Linked DNA regions of Homo sapiens: region 2 is linked to region 1. The links are contacts of gene promoters, found by promoter capture Hi-C in human tissues and cell types (Jung and others, 2019). All regions are on one chromosome and are shown on one strand. The core of a region is centred on a gene start or on the middle of the fragment in contact, and the rest is flanking DNA. Distances in the headings are between cores, read along the strand shown. Region 1 holds the start of DPT (dermatopontin). Region 2 overlaps LINC00970 (long intergenic non-protein coding RNA 970).

Region 1 (7,468 bases), core at 3,320-5,819:
ACTCCTGAGTATATACCTGAGAGAAATGAAAACATATGTCCACACATATACTTCTACATACATGTTTGTAGCAACACTGTTCATAATAGCCAAAAAGTGGAAACAACTCAAATGTCCATCAACTTGTAAATGGATAAATAATATATGGTAGATGTATACTGTAGAGTATTATCTGGCATTATAAAGAAATGAACTAGTGATACATGCTGCAAAATGGATGAACCTTATGAACCGCTAACATAAAACCTATGCTAAATGAAAGAACCTATTCATGAAAGACCACATATTGAATGATTCTATTCATACGAAATATCCAGAACAGACAAATCCATAGAGACACAAAGTAGATTGATTGTTGCCTAGGGCTAAAGGATGAAGGGAAATGGAGAGCGACTACTGATGTGTTCAGGGTTTCTTGGGTGGTTAAAATATTCTAAAATTGCTTGCGGTGGTGGTTGCATAAACTCTGTGAACATACTAATTTAAGGGATATATTGAATTATATACCTTAAGTGGTGAATTGTATGGTATGTTAATTATATCTCAATACAGCCGAAGAAGGAGGAGGATAAGGAGAGAGAAAAGAAGAATAAGAGGTAGAAGAAAAAGAAGAATCATGGAGACTTTTGAATGCTCTTTGTCAGAATCTCCAAAATATCTCAAGTCCATTATCTACTAGGAGGTAAGATAGCCCAGTGGTGAATTGTGTGGGCGCCAGAATCAAAATTAGTGAACTGAGTTATCTAGGCTTCAGTATCACTACATAACTTCTCGAGAAGTGACACCTGGAATTTGGGTAGAGTGTTCTGCATTATCTGCTATACGGTAATTCTCACTTTAGTGAGTATCAAGTTACCTAAAGGGCTTGTTCAAACACACATTGCCGGGCTCTACTCCTACAGTGTCTGATTCAGTAGGTCTGAGAGGGGCCGGAGGATTTGCATTTCTAACAAGTTCCCAGGTGACGCTGATGCTGTTGGTTTTAGAGCAACACCCCAAAAACTACTTATTGAACATTTAGTTCTTTAAAGTCCCCAGGGTCTATTGAGTAGACTTTTCAAATAACAGCAGAAATGCGTAGCGCAAATTAGTTATATGTGTATGTTAATATACATACTTTATAAGTGCATTATTTGACAATTATTCATAAATGTTATAATTAGTAACTGTAACTTTGATGAAATGATGGAAGGCATTGCAGAATGGGAATCAGAAGACATGGGGTCATATCCTTCCAGTTCTAGAAATTTGGCCCAAAATGTTCTCTCACCACAGTTTCCCCATCTGTGAGAAACTAATTCCAATAATGCCTCACTAACATATAAAGTTATGAGGAAGATAACATAGTAACCTAGTTGAAAACACATGGTCAACTGTAAATGCATTAATCTTATGTTCTCAATGTCTGCGTATGGAAATCATTCTCTATGCGGCCACCAGAATCTCTCTCAAAGGCATCAGCAGTTTCTGGAATCTCCTGAGACACTGGATGAGTTAGGTTGCTTTCAGCTTTAAGTAACAGAAATCTATATTAAAACTGGACCATAGCATGAAGATATTTATTTTTGCACATTAAAGGGAATCCAGCTGAGGTAGTTCTAGCTGTAGTTGAAAGAAATCTGCGGAGAGTGGAGATCAGGCAGAGGCCCTGGAAATTGTTGGAAAACAAATGTATAATAAAGATGAGTGTTTATGATAATCTGCTTTGTCTCTTAGAGCTCTTTAAGGTTTAAAATAGCTCATATCATGTCCAGAATGCAAGATACAACTCATGAGCATCAGGATGATAAACTGAAAAAATTAAAAAAAAAAAAAAACCCTCTAGCATAGAGGTTCTCAACCCTGGCTTCCGGTGAGAAGCCTATAGGGAAGGTTTCAAAGGACGTCATTGTCAGGACCCTGCTCAGAAGCTTCTGATCTGATTGGTCCAGAAATTGCTTAGACTCTGGAGGTTTCCAAAAGCTTTCCAGGTAATCCTTAAATGCTGATAAGGTGGAGAATGATTGCTTCAGCATATCATGAATCAGAGAGATCCTTCTAAGCTAGGAAGAATTCCGATGCCAGCACTGGGCAGTTACTTACGGATGGAAGTGGTGGGAGAAGATGGTGCTAAAAACAAAACTAAGCCTCACATAGCTGTTCAGCCCAGATCCTCTCCCCCTCGCTTCAGTAACCATGATCATCAAAGAAAACTGCATGCCCAACACACACACAAACACACACACACACACACACACACACGAGTTACTTGTTGCTTTATTCTCATGTATGACTGTCTTTCCCTTTCAAGACTATCTTGGTGTTTGATCTAGACTGAATACCGTCTGGTAAATGTGCCACAGGCTAGGCAGATGGTGGGATTAATAGTGTGATTTTTCTCTGGCTCCACATTCCTTTAGGAAGGTGACTCTTAGCAATTGATGTGAATAAGAATCACCTGGAAAATTTTTTAAAATATAAATACCTGAGCACCCCTTGTGAGGTTATGATTTAGCAGGCCTGGAGAAGAGCCACTGTCTACATTTTAACAAACTTCACAGAGGCTGTAGATAGAATTGGTCTATGATCACAATTCTAAGAAACTTTAAGAACAATACTGATGAGAAATGGGAAATACTATGTGCTTAAGAGATGCCCAAAGGTTTCAAAAAATTTGAAAAGCCAAATCATCAACGGATGCATGGAATGGGTAATGAGCACATGAAAAGATGCTCAAAATCATGGATCATTAGAGAAATGAAAATCACAACCACACTGAAATATCACTACAAACCTATTTGAATAGCTAAAATTTTTTAATGGCAATTTTCTGGTAGTGGTGGGCAATGGTATCACCACTTTGGAAATCAGCTAGGTAGTTTCTTGCTTTCTTTTTTTTGTTTTTTTGAGACGGAGTCTCGCTCTGTAGCCCAGGCTGGAGTGCAGTGGCACAATCTCGGCTCACTGCAAGCTCCGCTTCTCGGGTTCACGCCATTCTCCTGTCTCAGCCTCCCGAGTAGCTGGGACTACAGGCGCCCGCCACTAAGCCTGGCTAATTTTTTGTATTTTTAGTAGAGGCGGGGTTTCACCATGTTAGCCAGGATGGTCTCGATCTCCTGACCTCGTGATCCGCCCGCCTCGGCCTCCTAAAGTGCTGGGATTACAAGCATGAGCCACCACACCCGGCCTCAGTAGTTTCTTTTAAAGTTAAACATACATTACCTTGTGAACCAGCAATCTCACTCCTAGGTATTGACCCAAATGAAATAAAAATTTGTTCACACAAAAACCTATACATAGATGTTTATATCAACTTTATAATTACATTTATGTAATTCATTATATAAAATATAATGAATATAAAATTCATTACATAAAAAGTAATGAATTTTCAAAAACTGGAAACAACCCAAATGTCTTTCAACTAGTAAATGTATAAACAATCTGTGGTACATCCATGCTATGGAATATTACTCAACAATAACAAGAAACAAAATACTAACACATACAATGAGATGTTGAATTTTAAAATGGATGAACCTTAAAAGCATTATGCTAAGTGAAAGATGGACATGAAAGGCTACGTGTGGTATGATTCCATTTACTTGACATTCTGGAAAAGGCAAAACCATAGAGACAGAAAGTAAATCAGTGGTTACCAATGGCTGGGTGTTTGGGAAGATTTGACTGCAAAGGGATATAAGGGGATGTTTTGGATTGATGGAACTGTTCTAAGTCTTGATTAGGGTGCTGGCTATGTTACTGTACATTATGTATTTTAAAAGGTGAATTAATTATATGTAAATTATAACTCAATGAAAAGAAAATTCAATGTGAGGGCAAAAATACTGAAGGATAAATAGGGGGTTTATTTAGATTAAACCCATTACATTTTGAGAGCAGAGCACACTTTCTAGACTTGACTGGGTCCAATTTCAGCAGCATGGTAGAATGCTTAAGTGTAGAAATCATATCCAACTTATCTCCCCATGGGCCCATAGTACTTCCTTATGCAACTTATGAGTTCTCAGAGTAGCCCTGCAAACTGGTATACCCGCGCTTATACTCAAGGGTTAAAAAGTGTTGGATTGACAACTTAAAAAAAAAAACAGGCATTCAGCCTTACAGAAATCCTAGATGGCTCTGTTACTTCAGTCTATGATTTCGGTATTTTGAAATCACTGTCTGGGTATTTGTGTGGCCCGGAAGGCTAGTTTGGAGAACAAATACAGGGGTTTGCTAGTAGCGGGTAGGGTAGGACAGAAAGGGGTGAGGTGCTGAAAGGTGAGGGACAAATATGCTACTAATCAGTGTTTTTCAAGTGAATATTTCTACAGGGTAGAGCAGCAGTTGGCTTTTATAATCTAGATACAAAGTTGTTCTTTCTCCAGGGAGCTTCTTAGACTTACATGCTGCTGGTATATTCCTAGAATTCCACCTTAAAACAAGCTGAATGTCCTTATGGCTGACATCTCAGCATGGAAAAGTTTTGCTTAAGCAATGACACACTGCAGTTGGATCCTTCTCACCCACATCTGGAAGCCACATGTCAGCGGCAGCTATATAAAACGGTCAGACCAGCAATCTTAGAGTGACATTGTTTGCCAAAATCCCAGGCAGCATGGACCTCAGTCTTCTCTGGGTACTTCTGCCCCTAGTCACCATGGCCTGGGGCCAGTATGGCGATTATGGATACCCATACCAGCAGTATCATGACTACAGCGATGATGGGTGGGTGAATTTGAACCGGCAAGGCTTCAGCTACCAGTGTCCCCAGGGGCAGGTGATAGTGGCCGTGAGGAGCATCTTCAGCAAGAAGGAAGGTTCTGACAGACAATGGAACTACGCCTGCATGCCCACGCCACAGAGCCTCGGGGAACCCACGGAGTGCTGGTGGGAGGAGATCAACAGGGCTGGCATGGAATGGTAAGGGCCAGTCCCTGCACTGCACTGGGGCTGGGAACATCTCTGCATATCCCTCCTCCTGGGGGCTGCTAGACTCTCAAGGAATATCAGTAACCAAAGCCTGGGCAAATCCCACCCCAAACCTCACCACTGCATGCTCTGGGTGGAGCAGGGCTGCTGCTGAGCGGACTACATGACAGGACAAAAACCTGGGATGGGGAGTGTCTGTGGGAGACAGACTCCTCTGTGGCTCTGTTCCTTCCAGAAGCTGTTCTACCTACTCTCAGTTTGGGCCAGGGGCTGGTGTAGGTCGGCGAGAAGCTTGCTTACCAGACTACCAAAAGATATGTACAGAAACTGAAAGTAATAAACTTTATAGAAATTAAAACTTTCTGTGCCATCGGAATGGCATTTTTCTTTTTTAGAAATTTATTTTTACCATTTTACAAAAGTACTGGCCCACAGTAGTTTGGGAACAAGAAAAATAAACAATTGATCTCTCAGCACGGAGGGTTTGAGAACTATTGATTTAGAGCAAGTGAATGGAAAAGAGGGGACAAGGACATTTAGGCAAAAGAAAGTGGAATTAAATAGCTGTCTACTGCCTTGATTAAATGTGCTCTCTCAATTATGAGTACTGAGGTCCTTCTCTCTGCCTGAATTTAAAGTGGGTTTTATTGCTGGAAAATAGTTTACTAAAGGGTTTTGGAGAGAGGTGCTGTCTTCCCCTGACTGCATTCTGCCTTAAGCAGTGGCATGGAATTTTTTCGAGCTTGTACTTTTTTGTGGGGTGTGATTGTCTCAGCTGGGTCTCAGCCCAGGTGCTTGGTCAGGAGCTCATCCTAGTAGGCACTGACTGCTAGGCTGATTATTTACAACAGCCTAGATGGAGCCAGCACTCTAGGAGGCTTGGAGGAGAGAACGGAGGAGGCAGTCCAGGGAGGAGGAAGCCCACCTGGAGGGCTGCTGCATGTGCTATCTGTAGAGCAACCCAGATGTGTGGCAACAAGTACTTAGTGTAGTGGGGATTGGAGGGGTCAAGCACAAAATCTGGCCAGGTGTGGTGGCTCACGCCTGTAATCCCAAACACTTTGGGAGGCTGGGGAGGGAGGATCACTTGAGATCAAGAGTTCGAGACCAGCCTAGGGAACACAGCCAGACCCTATCTCTACAGAAAAAAAAAAATTAGCCCGGTGTAGTTGCATGCAGCCTGTGGTCCCAGCTACTCAGGAGGCTAAGGTAGGAGGATCACTTGAGCCCAGGGAGTCGAGGCTGCAGTGAGCCATGCTCGCACCACTGTATTCCCTCCTGGGTGGCAGAGCAAGACTCTGCCTCAAAAAAAAAAAAAAAAGAAAATAGAAAAAAGAAAAAGCATAGAACCCTGGGGGACACAACCAGTAGAGAGGTGATGATGGGAAATCCAAGAGGAAGAAACACCGATGGGTGGGGGAGCCAGGAAAGAGAGCGGGCCTTTAAGTAATGACAACAGCTACCATTTATTGAGTGCTTACCCTGAGCAGGCTCCATGCTAAGTGCTTTATGTGGATCATCTCGTGTAATGCTCAAAACAAGGGTATATCCCATTTATAGGTAGACAAACTGCAGTCTAGAGATCCAGTATTTCCTCGGCTAGAAAGCTGGGGTTTGGATCCACAGAGTCTTTGCTTCAAAGAGTTTGTACTTTGCCACAGTGACGGGCTCCTGAGAGGCTGCTGCCTCCACCCAGAGTGGGCTCCCACCCGACAGCTGACTCTGTCAGCAGAGCCAGTGCCACAGGACCAGATTCAGGGCAGTTCTTCCTCCTGGAGAGGGTGGGGACCTGCAAGACCACAGCAGAAGCCCAGCCCCAGAGGGATGATCCCTACTTGGTTACCAGGACTGTGGAGGGGCTCAGCCGGACTGTAGAAGGGGTGGGGAGAGGACTCACACAGGCAGCAGCAGGTGAGGGTGCCGGGGCTGTGGAGGCTGCTTGGACAGCCTTTGTGGGCCATTCTCATCCACCCCCATGGCCTCTGGTGAGCAGATTTAGTTATTCAAAACCCCTTCTGACAGATGCTGATTCAGAGACCAGGCTCACCTTGATTGTTGTCTCCATGACTCCTCACAGCCAGGCCCACTGCCTAATGTGGAGCATGGCAATGACCTAATTACAACTGTCCCTCCAGTCCTCACCTCTCAGGAGCACTATCGCATGGGTGCGACTCCTTTCTAACAGCCGTTTTTTGTGCCACAGTCAAGCAGCACTCAGCCATGGTTCCCCAAGCCATAGAGGAAGAGCCCTAGGCTCTGAATCAGGAGGCCTGGGTCTGGATCCTGGTTCTAATGACTTGTGGTGTGACCTTGGCCCAGACGCTCAGCCCTCCAGTCTCCCGCCTCATTTGGAAAGTGAGCAGTCAGGCTGCATGATCTCTGAAGGCTCCACAGAGCTGTGGCTCACCCCTGAAAACACTCTTGGCTTTTTCTTGCATTCTGTTGATCTTTGTGTTCATCCCTGCTAGAGAGAGAAGCCAAATGATGTTTAGTTTTAAACTTGCCAACTGTGACTGGTTTGTCATGAACTCCCAAACTATTTGAAGAAAAGCAA
Region 2 (7,468 bases), core at 1,717-4,216, 250 kb before region 1:
GCTGGATATTAGAGACTCAGTGGTTAATCAAAAGATTTCATGCCTGTCCTTCTGGAGCTTACAGTCTATTGCAAGGGTAATTAAACTACAGCCCATGGGCCAAATTTAGTCTGCCATCTGTTTTTGCACGACCTGCAAGATAAGAATGGTTTTTAAATTTTAAAACATAATAAAAAATGGAAAGAATAATAATATTTTATGACACACGCAAAGTGTATGAAACTCAAATTTTAGTGTCCATTAATAAAGTTTTATTGGAACACAGCCACACTAATTTGTTTATGTATTGTCTACAGCTGATTTTATGCTGCAGTGGCAGAGTCAAGTAGTTGCAACAGAAACCGTATGGCATAAATCTAAAATATTTACTATCTGGCTCTTTACAGAAAAAGTTTGCAGACTCATGATCTAGTGGAGTAGACAGAAAAGAGGCAAGCAAGCAAATAATAAAATAATCACAGATTGTGGTAAGTGATACAAAGGGGGAAAAGGAGGAGAAGATGAAGAATGCTAGCAGCATGTGTGTGGATAGAGTCTGTAAGAGAACGTCTTCAGCTGGAAGTGATGCTTATACTTACACAGAGGTCAAAAGGGTGAGAAGGATCCAGATATGCCAAGAGCAAGGGAAATTCTGCTATGTTCAGAGCAGGGGCAATTTTGTTCCAGGCAATGGAGACGGGGATGGGTGGTGGCAAAGGTGCTGGTGTGGGAAAGATCTTGGTGTGTCAGAGGAACTGAGAATCCATCCTACCTGGAGAGGAGTAAGAATGAAGACTGACCCATAAATACATGAGGAACCACCAAAGGGTTTCAAGCAAAGGAATGGCATGGCCTGATTTGCATTTATCAAAGGTTACTTCATCTGTCCTATGGAGAATAGATAGCAAGAAAAAAAAAAAGAATGTTAGAAAACTATTGCCTTACCTCTCCTTGAAGGTCCATTTCACACCTTGCTCCCATTGACATGTACTACGATGGGCTCCAATAAACCTGTCAAAATGAGGGGCTTCAGAATTTCATAATATTTTGCTATTATTCTTTCAAAAATCAGTTATTAATGAAGTTTAGATGTGTAGAATAGCAACTGATAACATTTTCAAAAAAGCATGTGTTGGATGTCAGATTTCACTCTAATAAGAACTCAATGAAGAACACTTTCTTGCTAAAAATACAGAGTTTTCAAATATGGTGCAAAGAATATAAAAAGTGTTATTAGAAAAGATAACTGGTGATAGCTGCCCTTGCCTCCTGCCTTAGCAGTATAACTTTTCTCTGGAGGGCATAGCCTTTTGTCTTACAAAATGACCTTATAGACCATATTGGGGAGGAAGATGAGGTCCAGAGGTCAACACTGATAGCTAAACATCTATGCATAAGAAGTTAACAGGAATCTGTGGAGAAGATAAGATAGAGGCTGAGAAACCTGGCTGTGGAGACCAGTAAGAAATTTCTGGAGGAGGATTAGCCTGAGGACATAAGTACCCTCATGTGTACTTCTTCTTTTTTATTTTCTGCAAAGCTGCCATATTAAAGCCTTCCATTTTTTAAACCTTCAATGAAAGCCTTATACAAGCATATACTTGGATTGGCAGTTTTCTGGAAGTAATTGGGATGCTGTCTCACAAAGTTATAAACTAGTACAGAAAAGTGACATGTATGGGTGGCCAGGTGATCTATAAAATGAAGTAGTTTGGCAGAGGTAGAAATTCAGAGCCAGGTTGACTAGGAAAAATTTCTGTAAGAAATATAAGAATCCCAAGGAAGACCAAGTTTCTCAACACATGTAATAGGGATTTTGAGGCAATTTCATTTGACAGTTTAAGAATAGTGTGAATCCAGCTTACATATGGATTACATACAATTTTGCTCTGTTTTCATATTAATACCATGATTTACAGAAGGCCAAGCAATGTCATGTCCATTTCAAAAACCGGGAAGAATAGCCAGAGAAAGATTAAGTGACATCCAAGGGCATGGACATTGACACGGATAGAATCACTATTGTTCCTCTGGCCGCTGGGCCCTTGATGAAGCCTGTACTTCTATCCATTTGGTGGATGAGAGCCAAGGTAAAAAAAAAAAAAAAATCAGAAAAGAACACAAGTAAATGTTTATGGAAAAACACAATCCAGCATTTACGGGAAGCAATGGCTTCCTCATGAGTCCTGCCCTTTCTGAATTTTGGGCTTTCCTGAAGTTCCATTTTTAGAGAAACTCACGCTTAGGCCAATTTTTGCTGAACCACTTCCCTACCAATCTGTTTCTGGGTCTCAGACAGCGACTTAGAAAGTGCAAAGCATTCATGTTTCCATAGTGCCTTCCTGTCCCCTAGTACCCATTGAAAAGGCATATCAAAAGAGAAATCAAACAAATTTTGTTTCAAGATCTCAATTGAATTGGGTAACACTTCATTCCATAAAATAGAGTAAGTGTCCCAGTGAGTTGAACAGAGGGGGTTGGTTTTATAGACAGAAAGGGTTGAAGAAAGCAGAAACAAAGATTTAAAAGCAGATTGGTCATTTCTTAGTAAGGCAGGAACAGGGAGACAGAACAATAGAAAGATAACTGATTGGTTAATGCCAGGTTATGCTGGTTACTTTTTGTTGAAAGGATTAAAACAGGTAATTCATTATTGTGACTGTTTGGAAAACGGGCTGTTATCTTTCCCTCCTGATTTCTCAGAAGCTCAGAGAACAACTTAGTTTCAGTTTGGTGACATGGAACTTTAGCATGGGTGACTCCATTTTGATTTTTAGTATGGTCTGTTAGGGCCTAGTACAGAAGCTTAGCCCAAAACGGAGACGGAGTCTAGCTCTGTCGCCAGGCTGGAGTACAGTGGCGCACTCTCGGCTCACTGCAACCTCCACCTCCCAGGTTCAAGCAATTCTCCTGCCTCAGCCTCCCGAGTAGCTGAGATTACAGGCATGCGCCGCTACACCCAGCTAATTTTTGTATTTTTGGTACAGACGGGATTTCATCATGTTGGCCAGAATAGTCTCGATCTCCTGACCTCATAATCCGCCCACCTTGGCCTCCCAAAGTGCTGGGATTACAGGTGTGAGCCATCTCACCCGGCCAACAGTGGCTTCCTATAATTTTTGTTTAAAAATCACCTTAGCCCAAAACAGTGGCTTTTTATAATTTTTGTTTAACAATCATAATCAACAAGAGTTGAACCACCACATTTCCTCTCTACTATGGTTTAAAGTTCCCTGTTCTATCACAAGATTCTGTAAAAGCCCTTCTCTCCTTCCCTGATGTCTTGGATAAAACCCTGATATACCTGGTAGAGATGGGCACAGGCCAGATAGAGGGTGCAAAGCCCTCCTTCCATGGAAATGGGAGTCAATGCATAGATGAGAAATTAGCCTGTGATTCTTTTTTTTTTTCTTTGAGATGATCTTACTCTGTTACCCAGGCTGGAGTCAGTGGCATGATCATAGCTCACTGTAATCTTGAGCTTCTAGGTTCAAGTGATCCTCCTGCTTCAGCCTCCCAAGTAGCTAGGACTATAGACACATGCCACCATACTTGGCTATCTTAAAATTTTTTTGTAGAGGTGGAGTCTCACTATGTTGCCCAGGCTGGTCTTGAACTCTTGAGCACAAGCAGTTCTCCTGCTTTGGCTTGCCAAAGTGCTGAGATTACAGGCATGAACCACTGTGCCCAGCCAGCTTGGGTTTTGTGATCCTGCTTTTCTCCATTTTGCTAGACTCAAAATAATTTTATTCTTTCTTTTCAAATTGCAAGAATGAATGAGATAATCGTCTACAAAGCATCTCGAGTTTCTTGAAGAAAAGTATCATCGGAACATAAAAGTGAATGTGCTAGACAGCTATCAAAGCTCAAAGCAAAGAAAGTCACAGGCTGGGAAGAAATTCACGAAACAGAACTTAACAATTCGAAGTCAAAATCTTGTACAAATGACTAAGTGGCATTTTTTTTGAGGTCAAGACAACCTGTAGAGCCTGCAAGTCCCTGTAAACAATAACAATAGCCAATCCTTGCATAGTGATTAATAGTTTGTAAAACATTTTTATATGCATGGCCTTATTTCTCATACATGAGACACTGCATATGAAGCAGAAACATTGTGAGACAATAGCTCTTCTTACCATCATTTGAAAGGAAGAGACTGCTGGACTCAGCAAGGGTAAATTTTATTCAAAGTCCCTTAGCTATTAAGTGGTAGAATCAGGATCTGAATTCAGATCTCTTGATGCCAAAGTCCATGCCATTGCCACCACTTCTTCAGGGAGCTAAATATCTCCCTCCTCTCTAACTTCCTGTTTTGTCACCTCTTCAGAGAGAAATCAGCATTTTGGATCACAGAACCATTCTTGAGTCACCCACCAGAGCAGAAGTTAGCTATTTCTAAGGAGAATTAATTCTAGTCCCCTAGATGCAAATTATTTCTTCCTCTCAAAGCTTCAAAGTGAAGTATATATTTTAAGTCATCAAATAAAGTTTAAATTTTAAATCACCAAGAAAATCCTCTAAAAAAGAGTTTATTTCAGACAACTACCCCTCAGATATATTGTCATTAGCAGTTTCTTAAATGCCCTTCCTGTAATGGGCATTAGCACTTTATATATGTTCTCTCAGTCACTCTTTCTGGATTTATTTTTTGAGCACCCAAAATGTTTTAAACATGCTTCATAGAATTGCAACAGATACAACAGTGAACAAACAGTCAAACTCAACTCTTAATGGAGAGCAATATGCAAAATAAATAAGTAATATGTCAGGTGGTGATAAGAGCAGTGGACAAACATAAAGTACTCAAGAGGGCTATGAAGTACCAGGGTTGGGAGGTGTAGAAGTGGCAGTGTGATATTGCTCTAAATAATATAGGTGATGAGGGTAGGTCTCTGACTTGAGCAGCTAACCCAAGGACATGGGAGAGAAAACCATGTGGTTATCTGAGGACAGAGCTTTCCAAGGAGAGGGGAGAGAGTGCATATGTCCTTGGGAGACAGTTCTGGGTATATTTGAGGAATATCTAACAGGACAGTGTGACTGGAGCAGGAGGAGCACAAGGAGAGAGAGGTAGAAGATAAGATAGAGAGGAGGTGGGGTGAGAGAGCCAGAAGGCTTGGAGGCTGTTGTAAGAACATGGATTTCCAATGAGTCTTCACAATAAATCGGTCTAATTACTCCTATTTTATAGTCAAAAAGATGAGCAAAGAGAAATTTCATAGTTATTCAAGGCTACTGTGGAGTGGTCAGGGATTTAAATCCATAATTTTTTATTCCAAACTTTGTTTCCTGTTCTCTCTCTATCCTGAGGATCCTTCTGCTTCCATGGTCCTGATTCAAAACCTTAGACAAATAGCTATGTCCACAACATTCACATATCTGGATATACATTTTTACAGAGTAAACAATAAAAAATAATACAGGACACTGTAATGAAAGGCAAATTCCTATCTTTGATAGGCCATCTAATGAGTTGGGATTTATAATCCAGACAATCTAAAGCTTGGCTGTGACAGGAAGAAGAAAGATGAGAGAAAGCTATGGTGAGCCTGGAAATGCAGAGCACGAGGGCATATTGAACAACCGGAGATCAAAGAGGCCAGTGGAAATTCAGCCAAAAGGAAAAGCCAGGCCAATCTCCTGAGCGTGAGACAGAGAAGTTTCAGTTCTGTTATTTGGAAAATCTTCTGAAATGCACATAGTAAAAATGCTGTCCTGTGCTTTGCATCAAGTCCCTTTGACAACAGCTACAGAAGCTGGAAAGATTCAAGCTTCTCTTTCCTGTGTTGCTTCAAAATGCTGGTACAGATTTGGTCAGTGACATGATGCCACCCCATGACCCTGTGATCATATTTTCTGATGAGCCCTAGGGCCTCCGCTCAGACTCAGGAGCTTATTCCACTTGGTGTCTACTCATTCATATCTTGGCTATTGTAATGTGTGGGACCATCCAGACCAGGTGCATCAGATATCTGCTTCCCCAGATATGATGCCCCATGGGTCCAAGCCAAGTCACCTGGTGTATTCATTTTCACACAGCTGTAAAGATACTACCTGAGACTGGGTAATTTGTAAAGAAAAGAGGTTTAATGGACTCACAGTTCCACATGGCTGAGGCGGCCTCAGGAAATTTACGGAAGGGGAAGCAGGCACCTTCTTCACAAGACGGCAGGTGAGAGAAGAGTGAGGAGTGAAGCAGGAAGAGCCCCTTATAAAACCATTAGATCTTGTGAGAACTAACCCACTATTATGAGAACAGCATGGGGGAAACCACTCCCATGGTCGAATAACCTCCCATTGGGTTCTACCCTCAACATATGAGGATTATAGGGATTACAATTCAAGATGAGATTTGGGTGGGGACACAGAGCCAAATCATATCACCCGGTTTCCTGTGGAAATGGATGGAACAGTATAGCCTATTGACCATACAGGCAGGTTGAAAAACAGGGGCTCACTGTCTTCAAAGGAGCAACTTGATAAAATCCTATGCCGCATCAGCTCTCAGCTCTCAGCTCTCAGCAATGACGATGTTTGAAGGAATTGCAAGGCAACTCCGGATTCCATCACAGCAGAATATTTACTGGAGGTTCTGTGTGTCTTCCTCCAGTTATCCACCTGGCTTCCTGAGAGCTATCCTTTATATATGGAAACCAAGCAGAATTCTGAGTCCATGTCCCCAGAGAAATCCCTTAATTAGCCCAGGTGTGGGGGCTACGTAGGGCTGATGAGAAAAGTTAATTGAGAGTCGGAGGTTTAAACAAAGAAGGGTGTTGTTTTGGTAGGAAGGACAGGGTGCTGACCAACACACAGAGGCTTACTTGTGAAAAGATCAACTGGACTTGCAGCTTCTGCTATGGTATAACTTTAGAAACGCCAGGAAAAAGACATCATCTTTTCAAAACACCTTCTCCTTTCTGATTGTTGCTGCCTAAAGTTTCTTTCACTTATAAGTAGAAGAGCAAATATAATTTGAGGTTAAAAAAAAATCACAACAAAAAACCTGGGCACAGCAACATCTCAGCTGAAATTCACTTTATGGGGGAACTAACCGATCCATCCTTGGGAGAGTAGGTTGTCATGAGAATAGGGAAATGTAGGGGTATTTTTTTTCTATTGCTGGCATAACAAATGACCAAAAACACAGTTTAAAACAACACACATTAATTGTCTCACAGTTCTGTAAATCAAAAGTCTCGGTGATTTGGCTGAGTCCTGCCCAGGGTTTCACCATACCAAAATTGAGATGTCAGCAGAGCTGCTTTCCTTACTGAAGGCTATGTAGGAGAATCCACTTCCAGGCTCACTCCGGTTGCTGGCAGAATCCAGGTTTTTGCAGTTGTAGGACTGAGGTCTCTGTTTCCTTGCTGTCTATTGGCTGAGTCATTCTCAGCATCGAGGCCACCTGCCTTCTCTGGATTGTGGCTCCTTTTATCCATCCTCAAAGTCAGCAATGCTGGTTGCATCCCCACGCTCCACATCTCCCTGC

Evidence for each region. Contacts are between HindIII fragments. The study calls those that stand out against the background at their distance.
Region 2: a fragment that was not itself captured here is called in contact with the fragment with the promoter of DPT in region 1 in 2 of the 25 tissues and cell types used here (dorsolateral prefrontal cortex and hippocampus).

What each region holds. Positions count from the first base shown.
Region 1 is chr1:168,726,307-168,733,774 of GRCh38, reverse strand. DPT (dermatopontin) reads left to right here and starts at 4,569. Exons shown (of 4, transcript NM_001937.5): 1 at 4,569-4,905. The coding sequence starts at 4,601. The HindIII fragment of the contact is 7,078 bases long and covers 155-7,232 here.
Region 2 is chr1:168,977,702-168,985,169 of GRCh38, reverse strand. All of the region lies in intron 3 of LINC00970 (long intergenic non-protein coding RNA 970), which reads left to right. Among named protein-coding and RNA genes, the nearest start is that of LINC00970, 110 kb to the left of the region's middle. The HindIII fragment of the contact is 5,300 bases long and covers 317-5,616 here.